4 separate regions of the Homo sapiens genome follow, and all the other regions are linked to region 3. Evidence: promoter capture Hi-C in human tissues and cell types (Jung and others, 2019). All regions are on one chromosome and are shown on one strand. Each heading gives the region's core, a stretch centred on a gene start or on the middle of the fragment in contact. The rest is flanking DNA. Distances are from core to core; before and after follow the strand shown. Region 1 has its middle 73 kb from the start of LINC02693. Region 2 has its middle 53 kb from the start of LINC02693. Region 3 holds the start of KCNJ12 (potassium inwardly rectifying channel subfamily J member 12). Region 4 has its middle 72 kb from the start of KCNJ12.

The links. Contacts are between HindIII fragments. The study calls those that stand out against the background at their distance.
Region 1: a fragment that was not itself captured here is called in contact with the fragment with the promoter of KCNJ12 in region 3 in 2 of the 25 tissues and cell types used here (H1 embryonic stem cells and IMR-90 fibroblasts).
Region 2: a contact is called between a fragment that was not itself captured here and the fragment with the promoter of KCNJ12 in region 3, in 2 of the 25 tissues and cell types used here (H1 embryonic stem cells and mesendoderm cells).
Region 4: a fragment that was not itself captured here is called in contact with the fragment with the promoter of KCNJ12 in region 3 in 3 of the 25 tissues and cell types used here (IMR-90 fibroblasts, dorsolateral prefrontal cortex and spleen).

Annotation. Positions count from the first base shown.
Region 1 is chr17:21,477,291-21,480,059 of GRCh38, reverse strand. No RefSeq gene overlaps it. Among named protein-coding and RNA genes, the nearest start is that of LINC02693, 73 kb to the left of the region's middle. The HindIII fragment of the contact is 5,667 bases long and covers 1-2,769 here.
Region 2 is chr17:21,497,289-21,500,221 of GRCh38, reverse strand. No RefSeq gene overlaps it. Among named protein-coding and RNA genes, the nearest start is that of LINC02693, 53 kb to the left of the region's middle. The HindIII fragment of the contact is 4,866 bases long and covers 1-2,933 here.
Region 3 is chr17:21,374,886-21,377,813 of GRCh38, reverse strand. KCNJ12 (potassium inwardly rectifying channel subfamily J member 12) reads right to left here and starts at 1,457. Exons shown (of 3, transcript NM_021012.5): 1 at 901-1,457. The HindIII fragment of the contact is 9,762 bases long and covers 1-2,928 here.
Region 4 is chr17:21,446,720-21,449,583 of GRCh38, reverse strand. No RefSeq gene overlaps it. Among named protein-coding and RNA genes, the nearest start is that of KCNJ12, 72 kb to the right of the region's middle. The HindIII fragment of the contact is 6,245 bases long and covers 1-2,864 here.

The sequences.
Region 1 (2,769 bases), core at 35-2,534, 100 kb before region 3:
AGGTGATACTGGAATGGGAATCTCCCAGCACTAATCAGGGCAACAAGGATAAGATGAAGAAAGCCCTTATGAATTGGCGTCTTACAACAAAACTCCGTGAGCGCTTGACACATACAGACAGAGAGAGTGCCACCTGGGCCTCATGCGTCTTGAGTCCCCAGTCTGGTCAGACTGCTGCCTGACACAGAGCCACACTCTGTGCCCCTCAGATGGCGGAGACCAGAGAGGCGTCCTCCTTGTCACACAGCCAAGCTCTCAGGACATAAAACGAGGCGAGAGGGGAACCCCATCCCTTTTGTTTTTTTGTTTCAGGGACCCACAGCACAGTTTGCTTAGGCAGACATGGGTCTGACAAGTGCCACAAACCCAAGCGCTGGGGACCCAGCAGACTTTGAAGGACCTGTGCCTGTGTTCTCTACCTGACGCTTCCTCTCCTTATGACAAATGGCAGGAAAAAGACAGAGACAAAGGAAAACAAAGACCATCTCTGAGATCAAAAGGATCAAATAGAAACCTAGAGAACTCACAAAAACACTAAAAGTCGCTTTTTACCCAAAGAATTAGTTCACAAATGTTTTATCCTGTCAATCTCAATTTAGAGACAGAAAAAGACACAAATCTTTTATCCTGTCAATCCCAATTTAGAGAGAGAAAAAGACACAGACAGCAGAGACCTGGAAGGCTGGCAGTAAGAACCCTGCCTTTGCTGGCTCGGGTCAGAGGTCCCGGGTCTTAGCTGCAGTAGCTCCAGAATAAGCAGCGTCCTAGCCTGTGAGGGAGGGCCCCGGGCTCTGCGCCACGTTCTGCAGAGACCCAGAGATCGCCTCCAACCCCACTTAGCTCTTACATGGGATCCTTGGCTGGAACCTCGGCTAGAAACCAAATTGAAACCAAGCATATTAACAAGAGAAAAGCATAAAAATTGTATTATATTAAAGGTACATGGGGATCTTCCCAAATTAGTGACGTCTGAAGAAGTAGCCAAAGCAAGATGCTTTTGTACTTTTTAGACAAAGAATAATAAATTTGAGAAGAAATGACAAGGCCAAGCAGAATCTGGCTAGGGACAGTAAATTTCCAGGGGAGCCTCTAGGTGATATGCAGGAATATAAAATCAGTGGGCAACACGGCTTACTTCGTGAAGTACATTTACTCGGGTCCGTTGCTACCCCTAATCCCCAGTCTCTGGTGCTAAAGGCTCTCTTCTTGCCCTTGTGTGGGGGTGCCGCCCCCAGAGGAGTCTTTATGGCTTGCTACATGCAGGAAGAGGCAGGTCAGCTCACCCTTTCTAAAACTACAATTTCTCTAATGTTTTTAACATAAAATTATCAATATACCAATTGGGCATATTTTGGGATGGCATTCACTCCTTCAAGGGAAAGGTGGGCTGGGGAGGTGCGGGGTCAGGTGAGGATGTGGTGAAAGACTCGGTGGGGTATGGATGGAAATGGGCTCTAGGGGAAGAGGGAACAGGCATGGAAGGGGTGAGGAGAGAGAGGGCCATGAGCCATGGGTCTGGAGGCAGAGAGGCAGGCACTGGTGCAGGTGATGAAACCTCACATGAGGGGCGGCACAGGTCAGGGGGAAGGTGGAGGCCACTGGTGAGGAGACCGGGGGTCGGGGTGGACAACTCCATAGATCCCAAAGGTGATGGGAAAGAGCAGCATCTTCCCTGGCTTCCCACACAGCAGCATGTTGGCCCCCAGGGATAGTCCATCACCCCCCTGGGCAGGGCTCACACTTCTGACACCCAGACTCTAGAATACTCCTCCATCCCCACCCAGGGCAGATCCCTGCCCTAGAAGTTCTCTCTCTCATGTCTGGCAAATGCTGCATAGAGCCCTGGAATTCCACAGGGCAAGTTAGGAAGAGGGACAGCTGAAAAGAGGAAGTAATCACCTTCCCCAAAGAGAAGTTCAGTCCAGTACCATCTTGTGCCCCTGGGCAAGCTCTCCAGGCTGAGGGAACAGGAGCAGGGGTTATGTTGGGCAAAGGTGGAAGCAAGGGACCTCCCAGGAAGTGCTGTAGAATGTTCCAATGGGGACACCTCATACCCTTCCAGGATTAGACCTTGAAACCTGGAGATCCCAGGAAATTAGTATTCAAGGTTGAAGGGCCAGCGACAGGAATAGGAAGGCCCACTGTGTCATTCACAAAGCACTTCCAAACACATCACCCCAGGTGACCCTCACAACAACCCCGTGAGATCTGCAGGGCAGGGGCTCCCACAAAGAAGGAGTCGGGAATGTCGGGATTTTAACACTTTCTCTAAGTCAGAACCAGGAAATGCTGTCCCAGCACCAACCTATATTCCCTAGGCTTCCTCCCACACTACAGCTTAAGGTGACTGCTGCCTCATGGGCAGAGACCCTCGCTTTCCAATCCCTACAAGGGGCTGTGCAGGGGGGAGGATGAAGCCCCTCCTCTGACTGTCTCCTCTAAGATCCTGTTTTCTGAGGAAAGTCACTCTGGGAACTGTCGGCCTCTGCAAATGGGAGCCCGGACCTCATGGAAAGAAGATGTGAAGGTCACACCTGGAAGGGACCAGCGCTGGAGAGCAAACCTCACCTTTTAAAATTCCCAACTTGCATGTCCTCTTGCCACTGCATTGGTGCTGACTTCTAAAGGAGCAGCGGACGTGAAAAAGTTGACTTTCTTCTAGGTTAACTTCATGAAGATTGCTAAAGTGATGAAAATATTTATCCTATTCTCTATAAAGCTCCAGCGAATACAGTTTTCTGCACATGCTTATCAAGGTATCTTTCAGCC
Region 2 (2,933 bases), core at 124-2,623, 120 kb before region 3:
GTAATGCCGCTTCAGTGAAAACCCACAAGGACAGGGTTTGGAGAGCTCCCAGATAGCTGAATACGTGGAGTCTGGAGGGTGGTGTGTCTGGAGCTGGTGTGGGAGCTCTGAGCCCCTTCCCAGATGCCTCACCCTGCGCACCTCTTCCATCTGCCTCTTCATTTTCATCCTTTGAAATATCCCTTGTAATAAATGAAGAAGTGTAAGTAAAGTGTTTCCCTGATCTCTGTGAGCCACTGTAGCAAATTAATCAAACCCGAGGAGGGGATGCTGGGAATCCTGATTTGCAGCCAGTTGGGCAGGAGCACAGGTCACAACCTACTACTTGTGACTGGCATCTGAAGCAGGGACAGTCTGGTGGGACTGAGCCCTTAACCTGTGAGGTCTGACACTGTCCAGGTAGAGAGTTTCAGAATGGAATTGAATTAGGAGACACCCAGCTGTTATCTGCTGAAGGAATGGTTGGTGCGGAGAAATCTCTACACTTTTTAGTGACCAGTGATCAGAGAAATACAATTATCCTTTGGTATCTTCAAAGGGATTGGTCCCAAAACTCCTCCTCTGGAAGGGTTTTGGTGATTTGGACACCAAAATTACCGGATGCTCAAGTCCCTTATATATGAAAGTATAGTATTTGCATATAACCTACACATATCCTCCACATGCTTTAAATCAGGGGTGTCCAATCTTTTGGTTTTCCTGGGCCACAATGGAAGAAGAATTGTCTTGGGCCATACATAAAATACACTAACACTAACGATAGCTGATGAGCTTTAAAAAATCGCAAAAAAAAAAATCATAATGTTTTAAGAAAGTTTACAAATTTGTGTTGGAGGGTAGGCCACAGGTTGGACAAGATTGCTTTAAATCACCTCTAGATTACTTATATCTAATACAATGTAAATGCTATGTAAATAGTTGTTATATTGTATTGTTCAGAGAATAATGGCAAGAAAAAATCTGTACATTTAGTACAGACACAATCATTCTTTTTTTTCAAATGTTTTTGAATCGAGGTTGGCTGAATCCATGGATGCAGAACCCGTGGATATGAAGGAGAGACTGTATTCTGTGTGGAATTTATGCTGAATGGAGTGGCAGAACATACATATTCAATAAACTATAGGAGGAGCAATGAATATTTATGAAAGGAGAAATGTGAATGTGCCATTGAGTTTCATGCCTCTTCATGGGTCACGTGTTCATGCGAGGGTGTAGTTTTTAGCCTCTGACATCAAAAGGTGAAGCAGGGGCCACAAACCACTCACTGTGCATCCTCTGTGAGCCAGCCAAAACTGGTCCAGAGGCGGTGGTCCATTTTAGGAAGGATGCACTGTGAAGCTGGTGACTGTCACTCCAAAACTGCAAAGAGGTAGGGTGAGTCCAGCCACGGCCTCAGATGATTGGCTACAGATGATAAAGGAATGAGTCCTGTGTTTCTTGTTTGCCAGAGCTGGTTTCTGCTTACTCCTTAGGAAAGAGTTCTGGCTAAAGGTTAATATGGAAGGGACATGGTGAAGTGTATCTGACCTCCCATCCCATCATGGCCAGGAGCTCAGTTTTTAAGGTTTCTCTGGGGCCCTTTGGCCAAGAGAGGGTTCTATCAGTCAACTGGGGGAACTTAAGATTTAATTTTTATTCCTCGGGTCAATGTAGTAGACCTTGCAACTTTAAAATAAGCATTATCAGGTCTAAGAACTCAGTGTGTGAGCACCGCTCAAGCATCACAGCCTGCTGCCAAGATGCTAAATGTTGTAAGAAAATTAATAACTTAAGGTAAAAACTGACCTCCATGAAGATGAAAAGCCTGAAGACACTGTAACTCTAGAGAAAGGAGCATGTGTCCCTGTTGCAGGGACGGCAGCGTCCATTTCAGGGCACACTGCAGGCATGCCAGAGTTTTTCAGGAGTCTGCCAGGTGTCCTGTCCTGTCACTTGAGACTCCAGCCCAGGGACAGACAGAAAACCGGAAGACAGCACCTCCTGGCCAGGATCCCAGCATCTATTTGAGGGAGACAAGATGAGAAGGAACATTGTTGTAGCAAAAATAATAGGTTCTCCACTTCCCTACACAGGAGGAAATTCCCATACCTTGATAGGAGGCAGTTCCCCTTCCTGCCCACCTTGGCACAGGCAGTCACACTGCCCACCTGTATGTTGAGGGATGGTGCAAGAGGGCAGCACTGTCTGAGTTGGGACATCCACAAGCCCCTGCTCCTGCCCACCCTTGGCTTTAGTGCTGGTCCCTCTTGGCCCTGGCCTGAGGTCCTCCACCCTTCTTCAGTTCTCCCTCTCAGGCCTCCATCATCTCACAGCTTTTCTTCCAATCTCTCCTCTTTTTTCTTTTTGATGATGTTTCAAAAGAGTCAGCACTTTGGAAGACAACTGTAGACTTGCTTTCAAATGCAGAGTGTCAGAGAGCCATGGTCTGCCCGCAGGTGGCCTGCAGCTGGGCAGAGCTGTGCCTCTGATGGCCAAGGGGGAGGTCACAGTTGCTGCTTCTGTCCTCCTCAATGCTCCTGTGACACAATTAGAACAAAGCCTTACTGCCGTGACAAAGAAGAGGCAAACTCATGCTGGTGGGTGTCTTGTCCAGAGTATGTCAGCCACCCCGTGAGTTGGCAGAGCCAATGGGCAGACACACAGGATGAGGTTACAGGAAGATGTTCTCCTGCAGCAGATCTGAGGAGACAGAGACCCCAGCAGTTGGCCCGAGAAGCTCCCACCTGCACCTCCAGCATCAACAGGCAGACAGAGCACTCCTGTGAGAGGGGACAAGGCAAGTCTGGGGGCCTTGGAAGACTGCAGGAAGAGCTGTGGAGGGTGTGAAGCAGGTTCACTAACGACCAGTCCAAGGGAGGCCTCCCACTGCATGGAGAGCTGCAGAGATCATCACTGCTCCTCCCACAAGGAATATTTGGCCTGGAATATTT
Region 3 (2,928 bases), core at 208-2,707:
AGAACAAGACCGTCCCCAAAGAAACACTTTGACCCCCATTCTGATCACAGGTTTTAAAATATTCACATGACATGGGCACGCTGGATCAAAACCGAGGCACAGACACTCGCTTGGGCCTCAACTCCCATCTGAACCCCCCAAGGAGCGCCCCACCCCAGCTGTCTCTGCCCATGAGCCCCTGATTCCCGCCCCGCTCCCCCAGGGCACCCGGAGAGGCCGTGCGCGCGCAGGGTGGACCCTGGCCCTGAAACCCTGGGAGCTTCTCAGCCAGCGGCCATCCCCTCGGAGATCAAGGCCGACTTCTAAAAGCAAAAGGGAGCCTCTGGACTTGGCTGACTTGCTGGCATGGAATCATTTCCAGAATATTTTTACTCCATTACAGCACGGGAGGTGAGAAAGAGACACGACTCCAAGAACCCGCAGGTCTCTGACGGGAGGCATTCTCGGGGCGGCTCATATAGCCCGGGCGCCCACCTCCGAACCCCACCTCGATCGCGGGGTCTCCGGGAAGGTCACGCGTAGGACCCGTGCCGCGCGCCAGAGTGCTTCCGCACGCTCCCTCCCGAGCCCCCTAGTGCAAACCAGTCAGAGGGGGGCCGAGGGCTCCTCAAAGTTTCCCGGAGCGCCCCCCAGGACGAAGGTTAGCCAGGAGCAAAGTTCCTTGTGGTGGTAGCCGGAGACATGGCAGGAAAAGAAAAGCTCGCAGTCAGCATTTCCTCCGATGTCTCACCAAGGGAGGGAAAAAAATAAAACGAGAGGAAGAAAACACCCTCCCGCTCCACCTTCCCTGTTGCTGCACAACCTCGTGCTAGCTCCGGGCCGGGCTAGTGGCGAGGCGCGGCCTGCGGGGAACTGGGGCCGGGCCCGGGAGGGACCATGCGCCCGCGGCCGCGCACTTACCTCGGTCAGTGGCCCGGGCGCGGCGCGCTCGGCGTCCTCCAAGCTCCGGGCGGCCGTTCCTGGCCCCGGCAGCTGCCGCGCTGGCTGCATCGCCGCCGCTGCCGCCACCGCCTCAGGGCAGCTCCCGGGGGCGCTCCATGCCGAGGGGCGCGTCTTCTCTGCAAAGCGGATCGCCCTGGTCCAGCCACGGGTCGGGGGCGCGCGCCTGGACGGCGCCCCCGGCCGCTGGGCGCTCGCTTGGGCCGGGGCGGCTGGCGTCGGTCCCTCGGTCCGGCTGTGAGCACGGCCGGCCCACCCCCTCCCCCGCCGGCTGTTATCTGATCTCGGGCAGGGCCCGGCGCGCTCCCCTACGCCCCGGCGCCCCGCACCTCCTCGCAGGCTCTGACCGCGCCAGTCCCCCTCCCCCGGCTACTGTTCCCAGGGAGGCGGCAGCAGTGGCGGTGTGGCCGGGAGAAGACGGGGAGCGAGGAATGGAGGGCGAGGAGGCGGCGGGAGGCAGAGGCTCGGCGCGCACCCAGCTCCGCGCCTCGCTCCACCGGAGCTCAGCTCGGCAACTCCTCTAACTCTCCGCGGAGAGCACGCCCGCCCCGCGCCGCGCCGCGCCGCGCAGCCGCTGCACCAGCCTACCACGGCTCCGGCCTGGCCCCGAGCCCCTCCTAGTCCCGGGCCGCCCCCTACACACACACCGCCAGCCACTTGCGCACTGGGACGCGCGCGCGCACACACACATATATATATACACACACACACACACACACACACACACACACACAGGCACGACTTCCCGGGGACATGCGCGCACACACACATACACACACATGCAGGCACGTCCGCCGGGGACACGCGCGCACGCACAGGTGCATGGCGAGCACACACACAGGCATAAACATGCAGGATACATGCCCCCACATGCATGATGTTCGCAGGGGCACATGTGCACACTCGCTCATATGTGCACATGCAGGATGGCATCTGCACGTGTGCATACGCACACACAGGTCTAAGCTTGTGCATTCCCACAGAGCCCTTTTCCCCTGCACACCAGGCACGCACCCTCTACACACACCATCCCACCCTAATAGCATTTTTCTCCTCTCCATCTTGAGCTGCTTGGCTTCTCCCATCTCCTGCCTTCTCTGTGCTCCTCCCTGGACCTCTCTCTGCCGACCGGATCCCCATGTGACCCCCTTCTCTTTCGAGCCCCTGTCTCTGGAGGCTCAGGCTTTCTTCCCAACCTGTCCCCAAATGCCCTGCCCTCCCAGCTTTCTGAGGCCTATTGTCTGGGCCTCATATCTCTGAGCCTCCCGCAGGGGCCAAGTCTTTCATCCTGGCAGACAGACCTGCTCGCCTGGACACTGACCCAGGGGAACTCCATTTTGTCACCAGTCTGACCCCCAGCTCGGCCCTAGGGCCTCAGAATTGGGCCGAGGAGGCCAGTCTGTGCCCAGAGCATGAGCCTCAAAGGGCTCCTTGGCCCCCTTGGCCTCCAGCTTCCCCTTTAATGTGAAATATAATTATGTGTCTGCACAGCAGGGAGACTGGCTGCAGGATTCTAACCGAGGAGGACGGCTCTCTGGCCCGCACCCAGATTGCTGGCGGCTCAGAGCAGAGTGATCTGCAGGCCCCACCAGCCCTAGGATCCTGGCCCCAGGCAGCTGGTGGGTGAAATCCAGCCCAGCACTCACCGACATCAGTCTGCCCTGGGTTTGAATCCCACCTCAACTGACTAGCTGTGGGACAGGTCACTTCACCACTCAGTGCCTCTGTTTCCCTGTTGTCAGTAGAAATCACTACACTCATGGGGCTGTAGCAAGGATTAAATGAGATGAGTCTACCTAAAGTGCTTAGCACTTGACTTGGCTGGTAAAACAGCCAGGCGGAGCACTCAATATGTTCTGAGCTCTGTGCTATGGACCCAGCTAGAATTATTTCATTACCACTGCGGCCATCTGTGGTGGATAAGCTCATTGGCTCCATTTTACAGATGAAGGAACTGAGGCACAGAGGGGTGGTCACTTGCTTAATTAC
Region 4 (2,864 bases), core at 188-2,687, 72 kb before region 3:
TCATGATGAATATTTTTCAATTTATTACAGATGTGTATTCAAGGGGTTGCCATTTCACCTGCTTCAGTCTTCCCTCTAAACCAATCCTAAGACATACCTAGGCTGAATTCATATCACATGAAAATTCATCATCTGATGTCCTACTAGGTCAAAAAGTATAAAAACTGACATTATGGAGAAAGACTTCATTGCAACCAGGACACAAAGACACTAAGGCACACAGTGCTCAGAGCGGCGTGCTGACAAGATCTCTGGTGGGAGGCCATTGTCTGGACACCTGCTGGGCTTTGTCCTGGACACCATTCATTCACTTGAGCATGTTTGGTACCCAGGGTTCCTTCAGGTACATCAGTATTCAGTGGCGTGCCCAGAAGTCAGATGATTCTGATGTCAGGGGTGCGAAGTCAGACTCAACTTGCTTTGGGAAGTCCACTGGGGTGCAGGCTGTGTCAGGAAGCTTCCTGGCAGGGAAAAATCAACAGTATCAGCTAGGATGGAAGTACATCAACTGATGATGACCCTGCACATGTGGCTTTATCAACGACGGATCTGCCAGTCTCCAAAACAGTGCAGATTCAATGCAATCCAGGAGGAAATTCACTCACGTGACCAGGCAAAATGCAACTAACAATTCACAGTGCTTTTTGGTTGTGGAGACCTTTCTCTGGGCTACTGTTTCCCAAAGGAAATCTATGTCTTCAGAAATAAATAAACTGATCAAAAGATACTTTCAAATGTTTCATGTAGAATTGTTTCTAATCTTCTAGCTATAGGATACTTCGTTACCCAGAGAATGCGCCACTCTCCTGCCTGTGCATGGGGCTCATCCGCTCCCAAGACATCCAGGGCCTCTGGGTGCTATAATTCAGAGGGTCTCTGAAAGAGCACGAGGGAGACTGTTGACATGAATGGTTTTCTCTTTTGGCTACACCTGTCTTACACGGAGTTCTATGTGTCATTCAAATACCTTCACATATTAAACTTCAGGACATTCCAAGTCTCATGAAAATCTCGCAAAGGAAATTTCCCAAGGGTTTTAGGCCCTCCTCTCCCATTTGGGAGGTTTTGTTGATTTCTAACTGCAGAATGAGGTGCTGGAACATGCCAGGTTCTGGTTCCCATGGCCATAACGGAGCTGGACGACAGGGGTGACCACAGAGGCACAGTCCTGAAAGCATTGCACAGTAAAAATGCAGAGTATCTACTCAGGGTAGAGGATGGCTACAGAAACATGCTCAGCTTGTCATGGTGGGTACAGTGGGCATGGGAAGGGGGCACAGGAAGCTCAGGGGCACCCCCAACCTCCACCATGATACCAAAAGATGTAACTGACCACTGGGAGGAGGGCCCCACATGGTCCTGCTGTGTCCTCTTCGATCTGCTTGGCACTTTTGCTGTTGCAGAGCTCCTCTGAAGCAGGGTCCCATGCAGCAGCAGCACTGAGGACTGCGTCCACAGTAACAGCCTCTCAGATGTGTGTGAGGCATCTCGTGCAAGGTCAATGGCAGGCCCAGTGCTGTTACGTGAGCAACTACTTTTTACAATTATTTTAAAACAATATATGGCAACATTGGGAAGCTGCTTTCCTTTAAAATGGTTCAATGTTTTTAGTTTGGACAAGATATGACTAAATTAATTTTCACATCATTGTGCTCAGGCACAAGCTCATGCATGAGGCATGACCAAAAATAGTTCTGGAAAGATCAGGCCAGTCTACAAGCCAAGGGCACATGTATGATGGAGGGCACCTATAGACGGTGGGGACACAGGAGGAGCATGCCGAGAAACCCTGTGAACTGACCTTCCCGCTGCCAAGGTTGCAGCCTCCACCACTGCAGCTCTGACTCACAGTTTACATTGCTGAAGTCAAATAAAATATAGAGATGACTCTCTAAACTTAACACTGATTATTTAGGAGGCAAGAATGGCAAAGTGGGGCATACTCACAGATCGGGTGGTCTTCAGTGTGTTCCAAGAACAAAGAGAAAGTTGAGAGTTTTTATTTTAAAATTCATATGGAACCAGAATAGCCCAGGGGCAATCCTAAGCAGAAAGAACAAAGCTGGAGGCATCACGCTACCTGACTTCAAACAGTATTACAGGGCTACAGTAATCAAAACAGCATGGTACCGGGACAAAAACAGGCATATAGACCAATGGAACAGAATAGAGAACCCAGAAATAAGGCCGCGTACTTACAAGTATCTGATCTTTGACAAACCTGACAAAAACAAGCACTGGGGAAAGGATTCTCTATTCAATAAATGGTGCTGGGATAGCTGGCTAGCCATATGCAGAAGATTGAAACTGGACCCCTTCCTCTCACCATATACAAAAATTAACTCAAGATGGATTAAAGCAGAGGTCCCCAACCCCTGGGCAATGGACTGGTACCATTCTGTGGCTTGTTAGGGACCAGGCCGTGCAGCAGGAGGTGAGTGGCTGGTAAGCAAGCATTACCACCTGAGCTCCACCTCCCATCAGATCAGCAGCAGCATTAGATTCTCATAAGAGTGCAAACCCTATCGTGAAATGCACATGTGAGGGATCTAGGTTGTGCACTCCTTTTGAGAATCTAACTAATACCTGATGATCTGAAGTGGAACAGTTTCATCCCGAAATCATCTCCCTGCCTACTGCTCTCTGTGGGAACATTGTCTTCCACAGAGTCAGTCCCTGGTGCCAAAAAGGTTGTGGACTGCTGGATTAAAGACTAAAATGCAAAACCCAAAACTGTAAAAACCCTGGAAGACAACCTAGGCAATACCATCCTGGACATAGAAACGGACAAAAATTTCATGATGAAGACACCAAAAGCAATTGCAACAAAAGCAAAATTTGACAGATGGAATCTAATTAAACTT